Linked DNA regions of Homo sapiens: regions 1, 2, 3, 5, 6 and 7 are each linked to region 4. Evidence: promoter capture Hi-C in 16 types of primary human blood cells and fetal thymus (Javierre and others, 2016). All regions are on one chromosome and are shown on one strand. The core of a region is centred on a gene start or on the middle of the fragment in contact, and the rest is flanking DNA. Distances in the headings are between cores, read along the strand shown.

Evidence for each region. Contacts are between HindIII fragments. The CHiCAGO score rates a contact against its expected background, and 5 or more counts as called.
Region 1: a fragment that was not itself captured here is called in contact with the fragment with the promoter of SATB1-AS1 in region 4 in 3 of 17 cell types (activated CD4 T cells, naive CD4 T cells and total CD4 T cells); the score reaches 7.9 in activated CD4 T cells.
Region 2: a contact is called between a fragment that was not itself captured here and the fragment with the promoter of SATB1-AS1 in region 4, in 1 of 17 cell types (activated CD4 T cells). The highest score is 5.1, in activated CD4 T cells.
Region 3: a contact is called between a fragment that was not itself captured here and the fragment with the promoter of SATB1-AS1 in region 4, in 2 of 17 cell types (activated CD4 T cells and total CD4 T cells). The highest score is 8.2, in activated CD4 T cells.
Region 5: a contact is called between a fragment that was not itself captured here and the fragment with the promoter of SATB1-AS1 in region 4, in 1 of 17 cell types (activated CD4 T cells). The highest score is 6.4, in activated CD4 T cells.
Region 6: a fragment that was not itself captured here is called in contact with the fragment with the promoter of SATB1-AS1 in region 4 in 6 of 17 cell types (activated CD4 T cells, naive CD4 T cells, non-activated CD4 T cells and 3 more); the score reaches 11.3 in activated CD4 T cells.
Region 7: a contact is called between a fragment that was not itself captured here and the fragment with the promoter of SATB1-AS1 in region 4, in 7 of 17 cell types (activated CD4 T cells, naive CD4 T cells, total CD4 T cells and 4 more). The highest score is 14.3, in activated CD4 T cells.

The regions. Positions count from the first base shown.
Region 1 is chr3:18,695,322-18,698,284 of GRCh38, forward strand. No RefSeq gene overlaps it. Among named protein-coding and RNA genes, the nearest start is that of SATB1-AS1, 250 kb to the left of the region's middle. The HindIII fragment of the contact is 2,735 bases long and covers 64-2,798 here.
Region 2 is chr3:18,587,793-18,590,871 of GRCh38, forward strand. No RefSeq gene overlaps it. Among named protein-coding and RNA genes, the nearest start is that of SATB1-AS1, 140 kb to the left of the region's middle. The HindIII fragment of the contact is 1,375 bases long and covers 710-2,084 here.
Region 3 is chr3:18,638,752-18,641,978 of GRCh38, forward strand. No RefSeq gene overlaps it. Among named protein-coding and RNA genes, the nearest start is that of SATB1-AS1, 200 kb to the left of the region's middle. The HindIII fragment of the contact is 2,383 bases long and covers 456-2,838 here.
Region 4 is chr3:18,443,571-18,446,547 of GRCh38, forward strand. SATB1-AS1 (SATB1 antisense RNA 1) reads left to right here and starts at 1,667. Exons shown (of 7, transcript NR_125803.1): 1 at 1,667-1,872. It also overlaps a transcript of SATB1 not described here. RefSeq lists a silencer at 1,573-1,792. The HindIII fragment of the contact is 8,267 bases long and covers 1-2,977 here.
Region 5 is chr3:18,614,087-18,617,225 of GRCh38, forward strand. No RefSeq gene overlaps it. Among named protein-coding and RNA genes, the nearest start is that of SATB1-AS1, 170 kb to the left of the region's middle. The HindIII fragment of the contact is 5,486 bases long and covers 1-3,139 here.
Region 6 is chr3:18,655,482-18,658,354 of GRCh38, forward strand. No RefSeq gene overlaps it. Among named protein-coding and RNA genes, the nearest start is that of SATB1-AS1, 210 kb to the left of the region's middle. The HindIII fragment of the contact is 3,888 bases long and covers 1-2,873 here.
Region 7 is chr3:18,675,213-18,678,246 of GRCh38, forward strand. No RefSeq gene overlaps it. Among named protein-coding and RNA genes, the nearest start is that of SATB1-AS1, 230 kb to the left of the region's middle. The HindIII fragment of the contact is 4,732 bases long and covers 1-3,034 here.

The sequences.
Region 1 (2,963 bases), core at 181-2,680, 250 kb after region 4:
TTGTTCTTGATTCTGAGTTCCAGACTCAGTGAGTAGCAGAGTCTTCCTGACACATTTTTTTGAAGCTTGCAAGGTTTTAGTATTTGAATAGATTTAAAAATTAAAGGGAAAAAATTAAGGAGCCTATTAGGGAATTTCAGCGGGCCATAAGATCAAGGGTAAAGCAGCCACATAATGTTTTAGATGGTACCATGCGTGGATAGTACAATTTGATTCCATTTGTCCTCTATATTTTCTTCTTTTCAGTTCTTAAGATCTGCTATGAAAAATAGATAAGGATTTTGAAGTTATCCATGGACTTTTGGAGGTAATATCTAGTAAAATTTTTGTATGGTTGCATTTTTGGGAGATGCCATTAACTGTGATTGGGAGAAAGGCTAAGGAAAGACTTACAGGAAAATGATGGTGATGGTAGTGGGCAATCAGAAAAGGAAAAGTTTGAGTGTCATTGACTTAGGTGTTGTCAACTTGATTACTCTACAGTAGAAATCAACCAGTATTCTACCAGGATATGTCTACCTTATCTTTGTCAAAAATTGATTCATCACATTTCAAAATCAAATGGCTTGTCATCTGGAGATCTCAGTACAAATAGAGCTCCTGTTTCTGATGAGACTTTTCTGTTTTTAAATGGCTGTGTTACTAACAACCTTCTCATAATCTAATAATATTAGTCAGTACCTAACATAGGTCTGGAATTGTTTCAGAATCTTTGCTGATTGCATAGCAAAGAAAATACAGGACTTATCCTTATTTCAACATTAGCAAAAAGATTTTTTTTTAAATTAAGATTTTTCCATTGTGGTAGGACAGAAGCAAAAGTCTTTATAACTAGTATGAATAGACACTTTTGTTAGCTGAGTCTATTCAATACTGATACAGAAATTATTGGTAAATTCAGATTAGGAAACTGAAGATACAATCAAAATTAAAGGAGAAAATATGAGAGAGAGAGAGAAAAAAATGTGTGTGAGAGAGAGGTAATCAGACCCTTCCATGGCTATAAACTACTTAAAAAGGAATTGTTTCCCCCAGTTCTGGAATTTACCACTTCTTACCTTGTAAAATAGCCCCTTCTGTTATCTTCTCTCCAGAATCTCCTTTTATCTTTCCTCCCTCTCAGCATTGAAATAAGCTCAAGCCTCTTCCATATTAAAGATATATAAGCAAACAAACAAGCAAAACTATGTCACTTGACCTTAAATTCTCTTCTATTTCATGCTTGATCTTTCCTACAATTTATTTTAAATGAGTATATCCTTATTGTCTTACTTCTTATTTGCATGTCTATCCACAGTGATCAGCTTCCCACCTCTACCACCACATTAAAGTCCTCTGCCACCAAGGCCACCAAATGGTGTTCCTAAATCCAGTGGACTCATGGCTCTGTCTTGATCTTGCTTCACTCTCCTCTTCTCTAAGTCATGCTGGATATGCCCTTTTCAAAGACCTGATGACAATCCCACTCCTGCACTAAATATTTTCAAAGTGGTTCCATTCAAGGGAGCAATTTCTTATGTTCCTAGCTTTCTCAGACTCGATTTCTTGTCACTGCAAGCAGAAAAGAACCTCTTAGTGTAGTTTCCTCATAGTCAGCATTGAGGCCACTGAATCAGGTGGCAGTTTTTAAATTGCTGCTCAAATTTTCTTTGTTACATTTACATATAATTTTTAAAGATAAACCATAAAGCTCATAACAAAAGCCAACAGTCTTTTATCTCATCTCTACCCATACACCTGCTCTCAAAGGCAACTACTTTCACCCCTTAATCATTATTTTACATTTAATTCCATATTTTCAGATAACATGTTTATACATATATTTACTGATTTTTCAATTTTAGACATTTTTTACTGAGTTTATACTGTGATAGATGAGGATTTATGTCCTGTACTTCCTTTCTCCCTTATAGAGGTATCAAATCAATGTTCATCATTATTTACATTTTAGTGTTTTTCTAAATATTCTTCACTACAAGATCAAAAGGTATCACATAATTCAATTTTCTTTCATCAGGTTTATTTTCTCAAGCAAATAATTGTATAATATGCTTGCATTCTTGCTTTGCTTGTACCTATCAGTAATTCTTTTTCAACATGCCAATGAAAATGTACAACTACTCTCAGTACTTTTTTCCATTAGTTAAATGAATCAGGTGTTTGTATCTATTTTTAATTTTTTAAAAATTTTCTTACTGTGTTTGTATAGTATTTGGCTCTCTCTGGGAACCTTTCATCATGTTTCTCTAATTCTGATATGTTTTTCTTTAGGACAAACACACTTATCCTGGGACTTCCCTTCACTCTCATCCAATGAAAATTTTTTTCTCTCTTGAGTGTGACGCTCTGTTTTAGATGTAGCACTATTTTCAAGCGTTCTCTTGGTTTTGATGGAGAAGAAAATAGAGGAAGTATAAAGGAAATATAGAAAGTTTATTTTTTACAACTTTTTCTATTTCTGATGACATGCTTATTCTACTCTGAGACATGATTGATGATTGACAGAGCACAAAATTTATGTTAGGTTATTATTCTCCAGATTTTTAAAGGTATTGTTTCACTGTCTTTCTCCTTCCAGTATTGTTAATAAGAAGTCCAGAATCATCATGACTTTCAGTCTTTGATATGTGACTTGTTCTTTCTAGAACCTTATGGTGAGTACCTTGCTTTGGATCACTTTTCGTTCATTGCATTGGGTAGTGGGTAGGTGTTTTTACTCTGGTGCCTGGTAGGAGAAGGGAGCTAGTGGATGGATTTTGTGCCTATGGTTTATCTCAATCTCCTTATTTTTATTCTTAAGCTTCACCCCACAGGTTTTTGAATCTGGAAATTCTCAGTCTCAATTTTTTCACAGAGTAAATTTCTGGTCTCCTGCACAGTGTTCATCTGGTTATATGACGTGGGGAGAGAGGGACCAGGGATCTCACTGAATAGTATTGAGACTTTGGATCAGTTCTCTTATT
Region 2 (3,079 bases), core at 147-2,646, 140 kb after region 4:
TCTCTTCTAGCTTCTGGTAGCATTGGCATTTGTTGTCTTGTAGATGGTGTCTTCCCTGTGTCTTTACATCTGAATGTGTCTGTCAGTGGCTACAGTTCTCCTATATATAAGGACAGCTCTGCTACAGGATTAGGGCCCACCCTAATTACTTCATTTTAACTTGATTATCTCTATGAATACCCAACTCCCAAATGGGGTCATATTCTGAAATACTAGGGGCTAGGACTTATGACATCATTTTTTTTGGAGGGGGATATAATTCAACCTATAGCAGGAGGATTTTGTCATACAGAATTATTATTTGTATTTAATTGAAATTAAATATCTCAATTTTCTGTCCTATTAAAAGGAAATTTCCTACTCCTTTCCCTTAGAATTTTACTGTTCAGAGGGGATTAAAATCACCGTTCTATCATCACATACAAGGTGTCATTAGGATGTCATTAGGATGGTTTCCCCATCCACTCTCACCCTCATGCCAGGAGGTAACGTATACATCAGGTTGACTCCTGAACCCACATGGTTTAGCCACATGAGTGGCACAGCCATCTAGAACTGGAAGGAACACTAAAGGTAACTTAGTAGGGCATCTTTACTTTACTAATAAAGAAATCCAGGTCCAAGAGGTTAAAATAGTTTGCCTCAGAGTGCTCAGCTAATTAAGGGTTGAAGTGGGATCAAAGTCACGTCATTCAACTATGAATATAGAAGCTTTTCAGTGTATTTTTGTTTCCACATATTCACATCCAAAAATAAATATTCTAAAAACTTTAGAAAAAAAAAGTTCAAATACACAGCACATGTATTCCCTCTCCAATGTTTACGACAAAGGTAAAAGCCTTAAAAATGCTCGCAGGTGCCATACAGATGATGGAAGTGAAGTAAGAAGGCAGGGTATCAGTAATAGAGAGTTCAGCAAACTGAAGAGCACAAGCCCTTCCCATGAAAGGGATGGAAGGCAGTAACCATTTCTCAGCCCAGCGGCTTACTGCCCTGTGGAATTACATGCTCACTTTTCCAGATCTTCTGATATCTAAAGGAAACCTAATGATCTGGATTTTATTTAGAATACTCAAATTTTAAGTGTGTTGTAAAAAATATACAAATTCAAAGAAGCACTGTATAGTCAGAATTTTTCAGGGGGCTTGCCCGGTTTGAAACCTATTTCATATCTTCTCCTCTTTTCTTACTTTTCCAATAATCCCTTTACTCCTTGGATGGTTGCTAGGTTTAGGAACAAAAAGGCATTCCTCAGGAACAAACGTAATCACCTTTGGCAATACGTATTTAAGGCTTTCTGTTGGATTTCCTCAAGCGTTCTTTCAAGGCTTTTCACTCTCCTAGTACATATGCTGTTGTTCATTTTCAAGGTTGGTATGTAATAGTAGTAAAGTTGGTGTAGTTAGTAATTAATGGGTCTAAATTATCTGTCGTCTTAGTATTTGAATGTCAAAAAGGTTTTATGAGAAGGATATACATTTTTCAGTTTGGGGTTAAAAATTCCACTTCTTTGAGATAAGCATCGACTTCAAGTGTTTTAGGGCATGGAGGCCATCTAACGTTTAGTGCTATATAGTGTGTACAGGTGGCTTATCATAAAATGGTAACAATGCTGGCTCAAACTTAATGTACTTACCCTTTTCTTAATTCTCCAGGCAGGGTATTTTTTTTTCTTTTAATCTCTAATTTCACTCACCAAGACTGAGTGTTAAATCTATTTTTTTTTTCTTCGAAGAAGAGGTCAATCACTCAAACCACCACAAAAGCCTATCTGTTTTACATTTATTCAATGACTCCTTTACTTCCATTCGATTTTCTACCTGTATAAAGTTATCCTCTTTGGTTTGTCTGTTAGCATTATGAAGGTGGCATGTGTGTATTTTCTATTATAGAAGGAGTGACTTTTGGCCTTTGGGGCACTTGACCTAAAGGTATTATTCCTTAGACAACTTACAATGGCTTCTTTTCCTTTCTTTCTTTTTCCCTTATTAGGCACGCAGGCACTCTGGTGGTGTTTTTCATTCTTCACAGCGCAGAAATTGTGTGAAAGACAATAGGCTTGTTTCTAATTTGGTGTTTCCGAAAGCTTGGCAAAATAGAAATAAGACTGTATTCAAAAGTTGAAAAAGAGCATGTAAATAGCAATAACTGAAATTTGTGATTAAACAATTAACAAAAAAGAACCCTATGAAGTCATTAAAAGTATAAAGAGGGAGGCACTTCCTGCTTTATCATTACTGGGTTGAGCTGTTATTATTTAACACTGATTGAGCACCAGCCACGTGGGAGCCATTCTGTGAACAGCAGAGTTGGAAACAGTCACTTTCCAGTGGCATTCTCTCTGGAGCCAGCAACAAAACCTGAAAAAGTTTTAGATAGCACTTTATAAAGATAGGGAATCAAGGGAAGGGAATATAGACAACCTGAGTATTGGGACTATAGCAGAGAAAAATGGGCTTTGGAGCAAAACAAATACACAAGCAAATAATAAATTTGAGTTTGAATCTTGTCTTCCCTCTAGTTATTGCCAGAACCTTGAACAAACTATTTAATTTTTCCTAATCTTAGTGCCTTCATCTTTAAAATGGGAGTGAAGTATACCTCTTACAGTTTTCATGGGATATAATGATCACAGAAAGTCTAAGAACATTCTAAATCCTCAGTAAAAGATAGTCATTTTATTATGATTATTGTTACTAGCTGTCTTCATTTATAACCATCTCATTGTTTTATAATATTGGTGAATTCTAAGAATATTTAAATGTCATAAAGAATTTGAAAAAGAGGAATTTAAAGAGATCAGGGAGAAGTGTACCAGTCAGTTAGGATTATGTTATTTCATTTGGCTTTAAGCCAAGCAAATATTCAACTGCCAGTTAAAAATGTACCACCTGCCTTCGCCCTCTCTTTAATATATTCTTTAAAGTAGTATGGTGGAAGATATCCAGCTACATTCAGAGCATGCTTTTTAATTTGCGGTTTTGAGCAGCCAGATTCTTGAAGGAATCCTAGCTTTGGACTTATAAACAATGAAGGAATTTGAGGGCTTTTACTCCCAACATGTTTAAAGGGAACGTTG
Region 3 (3,227 bases), core at 397-2,896, 200 kb after region 4:
CCACTAGTTTTGTTCCATGGCCATAGATTTTAAATATAAAGGCAGAAATGCCTGCTGCAAGAGGAGAAAAGGTATTCTCTTTCCAAGAAATTTAAAGTATTAGTTGAGCTACTTAGAGGAAGATGCTTTGGAGCTATTGTTTCATTGTGAATGTCCTGTTGCACAGGTCTGCTTTCATCCCAAGGCATTATTTAACTCTTCCTTAGTTCTAGGAACAATCTAGTACTTTTCTAATAAGTATTTCCCCTTCTTTACATTAGCTCACCAGCAATTACCCACTACCCAAAAGACCTTATGTGATTTATCATCCATGTCTTCCTGTTCCCCAATGATGGTGGCTGAAGGTTCAGAGGATTGGACAGCTAAGTACAAAGAAGTTGTTGGTCATATAGAACAAGTTATCCCATGATTTATAAAAGACAAACAAATTTTGCAGCAGCTCATTTCAATTTCCAAGCTTGGGGAAAATTAAGCCATATGTAGTGATTAACTAAGCAGGCTCTGGAGTTTGAATCTTGCTTCTGTCTTTTACCATGGGACCTAAGCTATTTAAGCTCTCTAGGTGCTTGGTTTCCTTATCTGACAAAAGGGAAATAATGTAGGTTTGTGAGGATTAAATGAAGAGTAGGACATAAAGCACTTAGCTTAATATGGTACTTATTAACAGCTCAGTAAATGTGGTGTTTTTTTGTTGTCTTATGTTATTATGAGATATTCCTTAAAACAGGTAGCATAAACATTGCTTTTTCCATTTTATATTTTCAAAAGTTGAGGCTGTAAAAGATTAAATGGTCAACATCACACAATGATAGAGCCAGGGTCATATTCCAACATTTTGATGTCGTTCACAAATATTTACTGAGTGTCTACAATGTACAGGCATACCTCAGAAATATTGTAGGTTCAGTTTTAGACCACAGAAATAAAATGAATATTGCCATTAAGTCACACAAGTTTTTTGGCTTCCCATACATATAAAAGTTATGTTTACTCTGTATTGTAGTCTGTTAAGTGTGCAATACCATTATGTCTAAAAAATCAATGTACATTCCTTAATTTAAAGTACTTTATTGTTAAAAAATGCTAATGATCATCTTATCCTTCAGCAAGTTGTAATCGTTTTGCTTATGGAGGGTCTTGCCTTAGTGTTGATGGCTTCTGACTAATCAGGGTGGTGTTAGCTGGAGTTTGGGTGACTGTCACAATTTCTTAAAATAAGAGAACAATAAAATGTGCTGCATCAATTGACTCTTCCTTTCATAAAAGATTTCTCTGTAGCATGCAATGCTGTTTGATAGCATTTAACCTACAGTAGAATTTCTTTCAAAATTAGAGTCAATCCTCTTAAACCATGCTGCTGCTTTATCTACTAAGTTTACATAATATTTTAAATCCTTTGCTTTCATTTCAACAATCTTCACAGGATCTTCACCAGGAGTAGATCCCATCTCAAGAAACCACTTTGTTTTCTCATCCATAAGAAGCATCTCCTCATCTATTTAAGTTTTATCATGAGATTGCAGCAATTCAGTCACATCTTCAGGCTCCACTTCTAATTCTAGTTCTCTTGCAATTTCCACACCATTTGCATGCAGTTATTTTTTCCACTGAAGTCTTGGTCTTGAACCCCTCCAAGTCATCCATGAGGACTGAAATAAACTTTTTCAAACTCCTGTGAATGTTGATATTTTGACTGCTTCTCCTGAATCACAAATGTTCTTAGTAGTACCTAGAATGGTGAGTCCTTTCCAGAAGTTTTTAATTTATTTTGCTCAGATGGATCAGGTGAACATTGTCTTTGGGACCTATTTAAACTTTATTATTGTCTTATTTTAAGAAATTGCAACAACCACCCCAAGGAACCCTACAAAATGTGTTTCTTCAATAATAAGACTTGAAAATTGAAATTACTTTTTGATCCATGGCCTGCAGAATGGAAGTTATGTTAGTAGGCATGGAAACCACATTAAAATCCTTCTACATCTTCACCAGAGCTCCTGGGTGACTAGCTGCATTGTCAATGAGCAGTACTATTTTGAAAAGAATCTTCCTTTTTCTGACCAGTAGTTCCCAACAGTGGGCTTAAAATATTCAGTAAACCATGCTGTAAACCAATGTGCTATCATAGAGGCTTTGTTGTTCCATTTATAGAGCACAGGTGAGCCTGTTTAGCATATTTCTTAAGTGCCTTATGATTTTAGGAATGGTAAATGAGCATTTGCTTCAACTTAAAATCACCAGTTGCATTAGGCCCTAACAAGAGAGCTAGCCTGTCTTCTGAAACTTCGAAGCCAGGCATTAAATTCTCCTCTTAAGCTATGAAAGTCCTAGATGGCAACTTCTGATAGAAGGCTGTTTCATCTGCTTTGAAAATCTGTTGTCTAATGCAGCCGTCTTCATTAATTATCTTAGCTACATCTTTTGGATAACATGCTGCAGCTTCTCCATCAGCACTTGCTGCTCCATCTTGTACTTTTATGTTATAGAGATGGCCTCTTTCCTTAAACTTTATGAACCAACCTCTGTCAGCTTTAAACTCTTCTGTAGCTTTCCCATCTCCCTCATCCTTAATAGAAATAAAGAGAGTTTGAATACTGCTTTGGATTAGGCTTTGGCCATTAAGGAAACGTGGCTGGCTTGATCTTCTATCCATATCACTAAAATATTCTCCAGATCAGCAGTAAGGCTGTTTTGCTTCTTATCATTCTTGTGTTCACTGGTATAGCACTTTTAATTTTCTTCAAGAATTTTTTCCTTACATTCACAACTTAGTTAACCTTGTGGCACAAGAGACCCAGCTTTTGGCCTCTCTTGGATTTCAACATACTTTCCTCACTAAGCTTGATCATTTTTAGCTTTTGACTTAAAGTGGAAGATGGGTAACTCTTCCTTTTACTTTAACACTTAAAGGCCATTATAGGATTATTGATTTGCCTAATTTCAATATTGTTGTGTCTCAGTGAATAGGGAGGCCCAAGGAGAGGGAAAGAGATGGTAGAACAGCTGGATGGTGGAGCAGTCAGAACACACACAACATATATAGTTTGTTTGCCATTGCATATGGACACAGTTCATGGCACCCTGAAACAATTACAGTAGTAACATCAAAGATCACTGATCACAGATCACCATACCAAATTTAATAATCATTTAAAAGTTTGAGATATTGTGAGAATTACAAAAATGTGACATAGAGACAGGAAGTGAGCATATGCTGTAGGAAAAAT
Region 4 (2,977 bases), core at 417-2,916:
TATGCCCCTTTCCCCTGTTGGTCTTCTGAGGTCATCCCAAGAGGAAACTGCGTTTCCCCAGTAAGCACGTGGCACTCCCCGGACCTGCCACCTGCCTGCTTCGTCCTTCTCGTCGTGGTTTCCCAAACCCCGGTTCTGCCGGCCCGGGAGCCTTAGCACTGGAGCAATAGGAAAAGGCCACCGCGCTCGGGTCTGGACAGCAGGAGGGAAACACGGTGTGGACTGCGAGGCTGCACCTGTGATGTCCCGGCCCCTGCTAAGAGGACGGCCCTTTCTTCTGCCTCTTGCCCAACTCCAAACCCACATTCACGCCAGCAGCCTCTCCAGGACCGGCCTCGCTACAGCCAGCGAGGGCTCGAAATGAGGAGTGCCGCGGCTTTCAAACTCCGGGCTCCAACTTGAGCGCCCCGGCGCCCGAGTAGCTCCCGGGATGCAGAAGTTGCCACAAACTTCCCAGGCCCCTCTTCGCCGATGCTTACAATCAGCCGCGCAGGCAGGGAGCGGAGGGAGGCGGAGATGGACCGGGAAAGGATGCTGAGCAGACTCGCGATCCGGTGGGGGAACATTACCACTCCCGCAGCCCACTCCTCCAGGCACCTTACTGCCCGCCCGGCTCCAGAACGCACCGAGAGGCTCCCCTTTTCCCCATTTGCTTCCTTCGGTCTTTTCCACTCCCCTTTCCTTTTCTAAAAGGGGCCATACCGGTGACCTGAAGGAGTTTGTTCAGCCAGGGTCTATTGGGCAGGTGTGGTGGTGTGTCCACACCCAGACAGAAAACGAATGGCATCTTCAAATCCCCCATCCCGACCGCTCTCCCCTACTCTACCAGCCCACCCCTCCAAGGTCCGTCTGCGTGAGAAAAGGGGCTCGGAAGACCGTTGAAGCCCTGCGCCCACGAGAGGGGAGCCCAGCCGCCCCAATAGGGGACGAGGAGTGGGTGCTACGGAGAAGTTTGGATTGATTCCGGAAAAAGAGGGACAGAGATAAAACAGCAAGAGTAGCAAGGGGAAAAGGGAGGCAAAAGAGCAGAACTCACTCAGGCATGGACGTTGGGGGCGGCGGTGGCTGTCGAGTGCGGGCCTGAAACCAAGAACGGCTCCCCGGGCGGGCGCGCCGGCGTCGGACTTCCGAGGCGGCGGCTTCTGCCTCTCCTGCCGCCGCCGCCGCCGCCGGAGCTGCGGCTGCCGCGGAAGTTAATTGCAACTTGACTTCAAGTTGTCCTCTTTCCCCATACGAAGTGGGCGTTTAAAGGGGAGAGCGAGGCGAGGAGCGAGCGAGCGAGCGCGCGGGGCCAAGGGAAGGAAGAGAAGGAGGGGGAGGGAGGAGATGTTAACGGGCGGGGGGGGGAGAAGGGGGAGGGGGCGGCGGCGGGGGCGGGAGGGGGAAGGGGCCGGCGGGAGCTGCTCTCGTCTCGTCGGTCGCGGCGCCTGCAGTCTGGAGGCGCACCGGAGCGGCCGGGGCGTCCCCCGCGGGAGCCCGCAGCCACCCGGGACGCGCATCCAGACGTGGCGCTTCGGACCGGGCACGCTGCGCCCGGGGGCTCGGCGGACCCCGCGTAGCCGCCGCTTCGGAGCTTGTGCGGCGCGGGCTGGCCAGCGGGGCGGCCAGGGCCCGGCCCGCCTCCCCAGCGCCCGCCCGGCTTCTCCCCCTGGCGGTGGGAGCCTCGGCGGCCGCTGGCGACACTAGGCGCACTGAAGCCCGAGCCGAGCCGAGCCCGAGCCGCCGCCGCCGCCGCCGCTGCTGCGCACCGCTCCCGGGCTCCCTCCCAGCGCGCCGGCCGGGGTGTGGGGGGCGGCGGGCCGGAGGGGCGAGGGCGGGCCAGGGGGCGCACACGGGGGTTGGCGCGGAAGACAGGACCCTCAGCCTCGAGGGGTAAGTGTGGGCGCTTGGGGGTGCGCTTGGGGTGCGCGGCGCGGTTCTCGTCGCCCGCCAACCCTGCCCCCTCACCTCTCCGGGGGCCCCCAACACGCGCACTCCTCCTCTTGTCGCCTGCGGCTTCCTCTTGTTGCTTGTTGTTTGGCTGGGTTTTGGGGGGTGAGTAGAGGGGGTTACTGTAGTGTGTGTGCAGGCGGAGGAGGAAGTCAGGTGAGAGGCCGCGAAGCACCCCCACCCCAACCCAGCCTGCGTGGGGTGTATGCTTCCCCACTAGGGGCATTTGGGCCATTTTTTTTTTCTCCGTCAATGTTCGGTCGAGACGATGTTTCCTAGAGGGCCTCCTTCACTTACAGTCTGGTCTGTCCATCTCCCTTCATCCCACCCTCGTCCGTCTTAGCCCCTTGTCCAGGAGCCCTGCACCCCAAGTGAGGAGCACGTGGCGGAAGGAGGAGGAGGCCCTCTCTTGAAGACCCCCACGCTGTGACCCAGCCCATTAGTTTAAATATTTATCCTCACATCACCAGCTGTACTTTTCAACCCACTGGAACAAGACGCCTAGGCAAGGTCCAATTTCCCCAAAAAGCTGGGGGCAAAGCGGGAGAGATGAGGGTTTTATTGACATTGGGAGAGAAGGGGCCAAGGAACCTTCCCAAGTGGAGACTGAAACTCAAAAAATCTCTACAAAAAGACTAGGGTGACTGGAGGCTCAGGACTGCAGGCTTAGGAGAAACTGGAGCTCCATCAACTTTATTTCTCTCCCCCTGCCTCTCCTCCCCCCAGCTCTGAGGAAGCTAACAGGTCTTTTGTTTTGTATTGTGTAGCCTTTGGGAAATTTGCATTGAGTATGTCAACAGAAAATTACTACTGTTTACTCAAAGGGATTGCAGAAAGATAAAACATAGTAACATAGTTTTTACTTTTCCTCTTCTTTGTACGCTTGTGTGTATTTGGCAAGAAGTGTAGTTAGGTTCATGGCATGAACTGCAAAACGTCAGGTTGTAACAATAAGGACTGTAGAGCTGCCTAGGTGTATTTTTAGAAGCCGCACTTTCTTGAATTCCTTTCACACAAGGCTTGCTCTCTCATTAAGTCCCCATAAATA
Region 5 (3,139 bases), core at 616-3,115, 170 kb after region 4:
ATGAGTGCACCAAAATCTCAGAAATCACTGTAAAGAACTTATCCACACGACTAAACACCACCTGCTCCCTGAAAACTACTGAAATAAAAAAAAAGAGACTATTCTGAGATTGTCACTAAGGACACTCTGAATGTCTGACTTTTTTTTTTTTTGATAGGTGAGATTATGTAATCATAAAGAGGATAATCCTTCGAATCAAGTTGTTCAACTCTTAGTCCCATTATTTGCTAGGCTAGGTGGTCACAGTAAGGCGCCTAACTTATTTTGTCTCAGTGCCCTTGTCTATCAAATGAAAACAATAATATCTAACTCAAAGGGATTTCATGCAGATAAAGTGAGATTATACCTTGGAAGCATAATGCTTTGCACAACTGTTCAAAAAATCTTAGATATTATTAATTACTCTTACGTATTCCTATATGAGCGAATTGTTCCTGAAAGCTCACTCAGGGCCTGTCAGGTCAGAAATGTACCCACTCTCCTAAGAGGCATTGTCATGTGTAAACTCAGTGCCCAGCCTTAGGGCATAATTCAATTTAACTCATTTCAATCCAACAAATATTTATAGAGTTCTTGTTCTGTGCTGGAGACCATGCTAAGTACTGGGAAAATATCTAAACATTTTTGGCTTTTATCATATTATCTATTGCTGCATAATTAGTTATCCCAAAACTCAGTGGCTCAAATATGCATTTATTATCTTACAGTTTCTGTGGGTCAGTAGGTCAGAAATTCAGGATCCACATTGCTGTTGGTACTTCTGACTCAGGGGCTCACGAGTTTTTGGTCAGACTTTCTACAGTCATCTGTAGGCTCAACTGAGGCTAGAAGACCCACTTCTAAGGTGGTTCACTGGTATTCCTGAGAAATTAGTGCTGTTTATTGGCCAGAAGCCTCATTTATGCCCCACATGATCTCTGAACAGGGGTGCTTAATTGTTCTCATGATAGGGAAACTGGCTTCTCCCAGAGCCAACAGAGAGCAGGAAGGGAGCCTCAATGCCCCGTATGAAGTAGCATCAGAAATCACACTCTGGGCTGGGCGCAGTGGCTCACACCTGTAATCCAGCACTTTGGGAGGCCAAGGCAGGCAGATCACCTGAGGTCAGGAATTCGAGACCAACCTGGCCAACATGGTGAAACCCCATCTCTACTAAAAATATAATAAATCAGCCGGGCATGGTAGCCCATGCCTGTAGTCCCAGCCACTCCGGAGGCTGAGGCAGGAGAATTGCTTGAGCCTGGGAGGTGGAGGTTGCAGTGAGCTGAGATTGCGCCACTGAACTCCAGCCTGGGCGACAGAGTGAGACTCTGTCTCAAAAAAAAAAAAAAAAAATCACACTGTCATTTTGACAACACTTCATTGGTTATAAACATTAGTTAGCCCTATTATTGTGTATCTGGTAGGGTAAGGGAAGGATAAAACTACATTAAAGTTATTCATATCAGAAGATGAAAATCAGTGAAGACTTATTGGAGGCTGGCTACTATATCATCAAACCAGAAGTTTAGGATGAGTGATATGTCTATATGTACTCAAAGATGGAAATGGATGAAACCAACAAATGAAGATACAGATCCAGCAGTGTGTGTGGGGAAGGTGATTCTACCTAATACGTAGATGCTTGTGTAAGAGGAATGATCTGATTTGGGCCTTGAAGAAAAAGTCAAGGATAGATATGGCTGGAATAGGAGCAAGATGAGGTGAGGAAAAACAGAGTACTCATGGAAGACAGTAAAAATTGTTTGAGCTCCAGACTACACCTGTGTACCTGGTCCTCATACTATGGTCCTGTACAAAATGTATAACCACACTTGCAATCCATGTGCATTGAAAAGGTGACTCCATCTGAATACCTTATGTTTCAGCAGTCATATGTAAAAAAGACATCAAGATTGGAAATGGGGCTTCCTATGAGAAAATGGTAAAGTTTCTGTTCTCTAAACCTTTATAGCTTTTATGGTTTGTACACCCATAAATAGGATGATCATTTACCCAGGTTTGACTAGGTTCCTAGTTTATGCTTGTTGTCCTTGTATGATTAATAGTGCCTCCTTTTATTCTCAGAAATGTCCTGGTACATTAAATTGTACGGTAACTTGAGCTACTAAGTAAGTGGGTGAGATAAGTTTTCTTGTTATAGATCTATGGCTCCAAGCATCCTGAGGATAGACTTTGAATTAACTTTCATGTATTTTCTAATACCTAGATGAAGACACTGGATAGAAGTGATAAATAAAGATATGTTATTGGTTGGAATTTTATAGTACATGGTGGATATTGCACATAAGTTTGAACATGTATGGTGTTAAAATACATTCCAGAAGTCAGTTGATATTATAAGCATCCATGGAGGGGAGGGAACAGAAAAAGAGTAGAAGGCCAGTAGTGAATGAGTTGCTTCATTGAGCATTTAAGGGGTTAAAGTAGTTCTTCAAGCTCTGGGTGTGAACTACACAGTGTCTTAATAATACCTCTAATACCTGTGCATTTATATGAGCAGAACAAGTGAAAACCTGCCTTGCAGAAATTAGATTAAACAGTTGAAGGAGACAGTCATTTTAATAAGGAGCTTCTATATAAAAACCCTTGATACTTCATTATCTATTTATTCCTCTCAGTCACTCAATTTTATTTTATCCTTCATAATTAAAAAGGAGACAAAACCAAGTCTTCAAAAAAAAAAAAAAAAAAAACGACCCAATGCCACTGTGTTTTGTGTAAACGGTATTGGTTGGATGTAGTTTGTTTGTCTACTTTTACTGTTGATTGCTATTTCTTTCTCTCCCTCGCCCCATCGTTATGCTTTCCTCCCATGAAGTCTTTTACAGCATCACAGGGGGTAGAAATATCTTGTGATACAGAGGCTATTAGTAGAGTTACTAGTAGAATTCTAATTACACATAGAGAATCATACCATTGCAACATTTCAAAGATGATACGGGCAATCTTAACATTTCTTTCTTTTTTATCTAGATAGCATTTATCACCTTCTGTACTCCCTTGGTACACCATCTTTATTGGTATCAGGAAGTATTAGCTACTCTGTCATTCTCTCATTCTCTCATAAATTGCCTGAACCAAGTTTTCATTTTAGGGCTCTGCTGTAAATTTCATTCAGTGCAAAATTTCTTGGAAA
Region 6 (2,873 bases), core at 210-2,709, 210 kb after region 4:
GTGTGCTAGCCCTTTTACCAACTTTCTGCCCTGCCAATCTTGATGTATGGCATTAGCATTCAATGTGGTTGCTACATGTGCAGATTATCATGTACACACACACAAAGAAGAAAAGCAAAAGGGGTGAATAAGAAATTGGGTTCCATATAAGAAATAAACTCTCCCAGTAACTCTCGGCTCTCTTTGTATTGGACAGAATTGTGTTGTATGGACACAACTAGCAGCAAGGGAGCTTGGGGAAGAGAATTCTGTGGTATGTGCAATATAAACTTCTTCCATTTATGCTATTACATCTTTGGTAAAATCCACATTGTGTCTTTAGAACTGTACTGCACAGTATAGCAGTCAATAGTCACATGTGGCAATTTAAATTTAAATTCATTAAAAATTGAATAAACTTAACACATTATTTATCCCATAGCACTCGCCCCATGTGGCAGGTGGCTACCATATAGGACAGTGCTGATGTAGAGCATTTCCATCATCACAAAAAGTCCTGCTGGACAGCACTCTTTAGCTAAAGCTGAGGATTTGCAGAATCTTGCATAAGAGTTGGTAGAAGTAGAAAACATTACATAAAAGACAGCTGAAATTCTTGGCAATGGCAAAGGCTCCAACTGCTGATGATATTGGAGGAGGGTGGCTGAGGAACCAGGATAGGGACTGGATTTCAGAATATTTGCTGTTAGTTGGTGGCAGAAGCAAAGCCAGTAAAACCTTTTCACAAGGAAGATCTCTGGCCTTCCTTCAAAACATCTGAGATTGCCGTCCAGATTTGGAAAACTGAGTCAAGTATAGCCCCTTTTCTCACAGTATTGACAGTTAGGGAGTATCTCCCTTCTCTGAAATGATCATGAAGAATGTATTTTGGATTTAATTTTTTCCTACAGCTAGCTCAGTCCGGTTTTTAGAAGCTCCTGGAAGCTGAGGGGTGGAGACATGGTGGTCTGATTCCCAAGAATTTAGCAGCATTATTTGTCTAAGCATTAGGGGGAATTATTCAGCTAAGTCCCAACGACTTGACGGCAAGTTTACCTCTGAGAGTGTATTTCCCCTTCCTTCATCACTTCAGTCTCATTACTTACACCACATCTTCTGCTTGAATCCCACAAGATGCTCATCTGTCCAAAGGCTTATGATGTGGCCTCACTCTGAATGGCTTCAATTTGAACTTTGCTTTGAACTTGCTAGCTTTACTCCTCCTGCTTTTCCTGGGCCACATGTACAGTTAAATCACATGCTTATTTCTGACACTTGGAGCTGAACTAATGCCATGAAAACCATGTGACATTGGTTTTCCACTCCTGGTTCTTTTTGAAATGGCAGTCTATTTCATATCTGGGAATCAGTGGTAGGGACTCTGCTAGGAGAGTGGCTCTTCTGATAAAATGCTATGTATGGTACCACAGCTGAAAGTTTTCCTCTCCCAGCTCTGGTTAAAATTAATTATACTTATTGCTTCCCTTCTCATTTATCTTTATGTCTAGAAAGTGATAGAAAGTTTTGATCTTCCTTTTGTGGTTCCAGGGCAGTCACAGTTACCAGTAATTAAAGACACAGGGCCCGTCGTAGTCATGAAATCAGAATTGAATTGTGAACCTAGTGAACGGGGACCACTTGCCTCTGCATGAGGCTTTTATAACTTTTTCTCTACAGTAGGGACCCAGTTGGCACCCAGTAAGTAATAAATAATAATGATAAGTAGTCTCGCCTTGTGCTTTCCAGAACGGTGCCTTGCTTTTTCTAATTTTGTAAAATGGCTTCCTGATGAAGTGGAATGTCCATGTCACGATTGTGGAAAATATGGATTGGTATTCAATGAAATATTAATGATTATCCACTTACTGGGGCTTTCCTTTGTGAAGACTGAAATAAAAAAGGAGCTAGATTTCTTGATAATGAGTTAAAACATGATTGCTTCAGTATTAACTGTGGCTGAAACATGCCTTTTTTTCCCCCTCTTATTCTACCTCATTCTGTCTCTCTTCTGAGTGCCCTCATTTTGGGTATTTTTATTCTTTACTAAGAGCTTCAGACAGATAATGACATGGTTTGAATGGGCAGGGTATATGATGCTAGAATGTACCAGAAATCAGTCTTGCCTCCATCATATTGCAATTTTTAAATTTAACATTAAGAGAACTATTTAACTGTAAAATGGGAATAATGATACCTAGTTCATAGCTTTGTGGTGAGGATTAACGAAAAAGTAGCTATGAAGTGCGCTAATGTCTGGCACATAGTAAGACCTCAAGATAGCTTGCTTTAGCCATTCTACAACGTACACATACTTTAAAATAACTTGTTGTACATGAAAAACATATACAATTTTTAATCGTCATTTTAAAAAAGTACCTCAAGAAATGCTAATTTTTATCATTTGGTGGTAGTGGTGCAGAGGAAGACAGAAGGCAGGTAAAATCCCAATCTGCCCATTTGCTTGTTAGTCGCTTGGATGAGAGATGTGGTGGAGCAGCTTGTCACAAGGAGCGGCTGTCATGAGATTTGGGGATTATCTGTGGGTTTCTGCTTCCTGCCCTCTTCTGCTTCCTGATACCATTTGAGAGTGGTTCTGCTGACTTTGAGCATGCTCTGGAGCTTCCTCCACACCTTTGATGATGCTGTCAGGATTAGCAAGAGTCACTCAGTCTTTCAAGACCCACTAAAAGAAGAGATGCCTCTGAGTTCTGGAAGGAATGGGTGTTGGCTTTGGAAGGGGTTCAGACTCTGGGAATTCACTGTGCTGTGCTTTTCTTTCTCAGCAACTGCCACCTGCAGCCACCAGTGTGGGCTCCCACTGGTACTCCCTACTCCCCACCCCCTCCTTGGGCTGTCTGCAGCCTTATCTGGAGAGTCAGAGAAGGCTGAGGTGA
Region 7 (3,034 bases), core at 241-2,740, 230 kb after region 4:
CTGTTCTTGTGCCATTGAGGACTTGGTGAGTAGGAGAAGCAGAAATTCCAGTGTTATCAAATAGTGAGAGATCTTATGAAGTCAGTGTGTAAAAGTAGTGAAAGGAGTAAAGTTGCACACAAGGACAGGTCTCAGCCTAGGAAAGGGTATGTTAAAAATAGGTCATTTTGAAAGTCTTCAGTAACAGTCAGGTTTCCAGACTAGTTCACTCTATTTCTAGCATTCTTTGGTTGCAAGTAGCTGTACCTGACTTCAAAAGGAAAAAAGGAGTGGAAGGAAATTCATTTTTAAGATGTGTGATAACTCACAGATATAAAGGAAGAGCTGAAGAACTGAGCCTTGAAATTGACAGAGGCCAGGGCAATGTAGATGTTATACACAAAATACTTAACAACAGGTACAGTGCAGATACTGACCAAATGGAATGGATACCTATGTGAAAAATGAGTACAGTCATAGCAGAGTATATTGACTCAAGATGAGCCCTGCATTTGGGAAGTTGGACCCAGTAGACTATCTCTTAAGGGAATTCTCATGGAAAGGAGACAGTGACAACTCTTCTTTCCTGTTGCCACTTCCTTTAAGATGAAGAGTTCATTATTTCAGCTTGGGTTTTTGCTTACAGCTTGTCAAGGAGAGGGCACGGCAACTAGATCTACATTCCACCAAATCTGTTGGCGATAATGGAAAGATAGTTTTCAAGGGAAAAATCAAGGTGCAACTATCAAAAAACTGAGATTGGACAAAACAAACACCACCAAATTCTATATAAACTTCAATAATTGTAATGGAAATTACTTGGTCCTTCCCATTTAGCTGAATCACCTACTGTCACCTGTATGGAACTCTTCTCCTTACTTAATCACATTATTTTTCCTCTTGATCTAACCTTTCTTCTAGTCTTTCCCTTCTTCTTCATTCCATAGTGTTCCAATTGTACTGTGAATTGAATAGATTTGAAGAGTGCTAGAAGTCTTAAGCTAAGGATATAAGCATCACTATGACATTATATCTCTGAGAAAATATGTTTTGTTTTATAAATAACAGAATGAGTTGTTTCAGGAAGATCATGTGTCTCTTGATGCAAAAGTGATAGCTCCAAAGAGGTTACAAAAAAACATGGTAATCTTCTTAGTATTTTTCCTTTAAATAGTGTGATTGTCTTGAATGTAGTGTAGAGATTTCCAAATCAGGGAAAGACTTTTCTTTCCAGTTGAGTTTTCCCATCCCTTTCAGGCATAGGCCAATCTTGTCACTTATATTCACAGGTACTTGTATGTTGGAAAGTATCAATACATAAATACTTTTTGATAGCCAGGGTTATTCAGTTTAAGAACTGGTACAGGCCGGCTGAGGTGGCTCATGCCTGTAATCCCAGCTTTTTGGGAGGCCGAGGCGGGCAGATTACGAGGTCAGGAGATCAAGACCATCCTGGCTAACACGGTGAAACCCCGTCTCTACTAAAAAATACAAAAAAAAAAAAAAAGTAGCCAGGTGTGGTGGCGGGTGCCTGTAGTCCCAGCTAATCAGGAGGCTGAGGCAGGAGAATGGCGTGAACCCAGGAGGCAGAGCTTGCAGTAAGCTGAGATAGCACCACTGCACTACAGCCTGGGTGACAGACAGAAACTCTGTCTAAAAAAAAAAAAAAAGGAACTGGTACATAGGGAATATAGATAACGCTAGCTGCCATGGGGCAAGCCTTTTTACAGGGGCTTAACATATATAATGTCAACACTGAATCATGCTTTAATTTCATCCACCTCAAAAAGCCTTCATTTGACTCTACTTTTCACAGAATTTATCATTCCTTTTTTTTTCATTTTCAGCAAAACTTCTTGATAAAGGCATCTATTCTTATTTTCTCAAAAATTTCTCTTATTATTGTTTTTTAAACTTGGCATAGTTAGGCATCCTCCACCCCCATCACCATTCCAGCAAAACTGCTCTTATCAAATTAACAATGATCTTTATGTATCCAAATCAGTTCTCAGTCCTTTTCTTCCTATACAACCTACTGGCAGCATTTGTAGTCACTGCTCCCTCCTTTCTTATAGATATGCTTTCTTGATTTGGCTTCCAGGGGTGTTCCCTTGAATTCTTTCCTCCTTCACTGGTTACTTATCTGTTCTCCTGATCTGTGGTCATCTTCTCTCTCTAGCTCTACTCACTTGCCTGTTGATTTTATCCAGTCCCATGGCTTTAGATATTTCTGAATGCTGATGACTCCAGAGTTGAAATACCCAATTCAGATATCTTTTTTGAGCCCTAGTCTCATAGATCCAATTGTACATTGGACATCTTTTCTTGAGTGTTTAATAGACCTCTGAAACTGGTTTTGCCTAACTTAGTTCCTAATCTCGCTGCCCTGAAACTTGCTCAACCCATAGTCTTCTTCATTCAAGCTAATGGCAATTCCATTCTTCCAGTTGCCCAGCCACAAAATCTAGAGATCTTCATTCTCTCCCCTATCTTTTACATGTAATATTCAATACATCAGGAAATCTTATGAGCTTTACTTTTAACTTAGATCTACATTTTTACAACTTCTCATCATTCTACCGTTTTTTGGTTGCTTTACTCCTCTTCCATATTCTGCCTCTAAACCAGTTGTTCCACTACTATCCTGTGTCCTCCCAGTTGAAAAAATTTCAATACAGCAGTCAAAGGATTTTCCAAAAGCATCAATTGGATTACATCACTGCCTTCTTAAAACTCTACAAAAGGGTCTCTGTTTCCTTCAGAATCAAAGTCCTCACAATGGCCTTTAAGGCCCTATGTTATCTGGTTCCTATCGCCCTTCTCACCTTTTCCCTACTAGTTTCTTCAATACTTATTTCCAGCCACACTGGCCTCCTTGCTGTTAGAGTTTTTACTTATCTGATCCTGATGCTTGTAATGCTCTTCCCCTCCTATTCCCACTTGACTGACTTACAGACCCTCCTCAGGATTTTGCACTAATCTCATGTCTCAGTGAGCCCCACCCTGATCATCACATTGCACACTGAAGCATGGTCTGCCTTCCTTTCAACTCAAA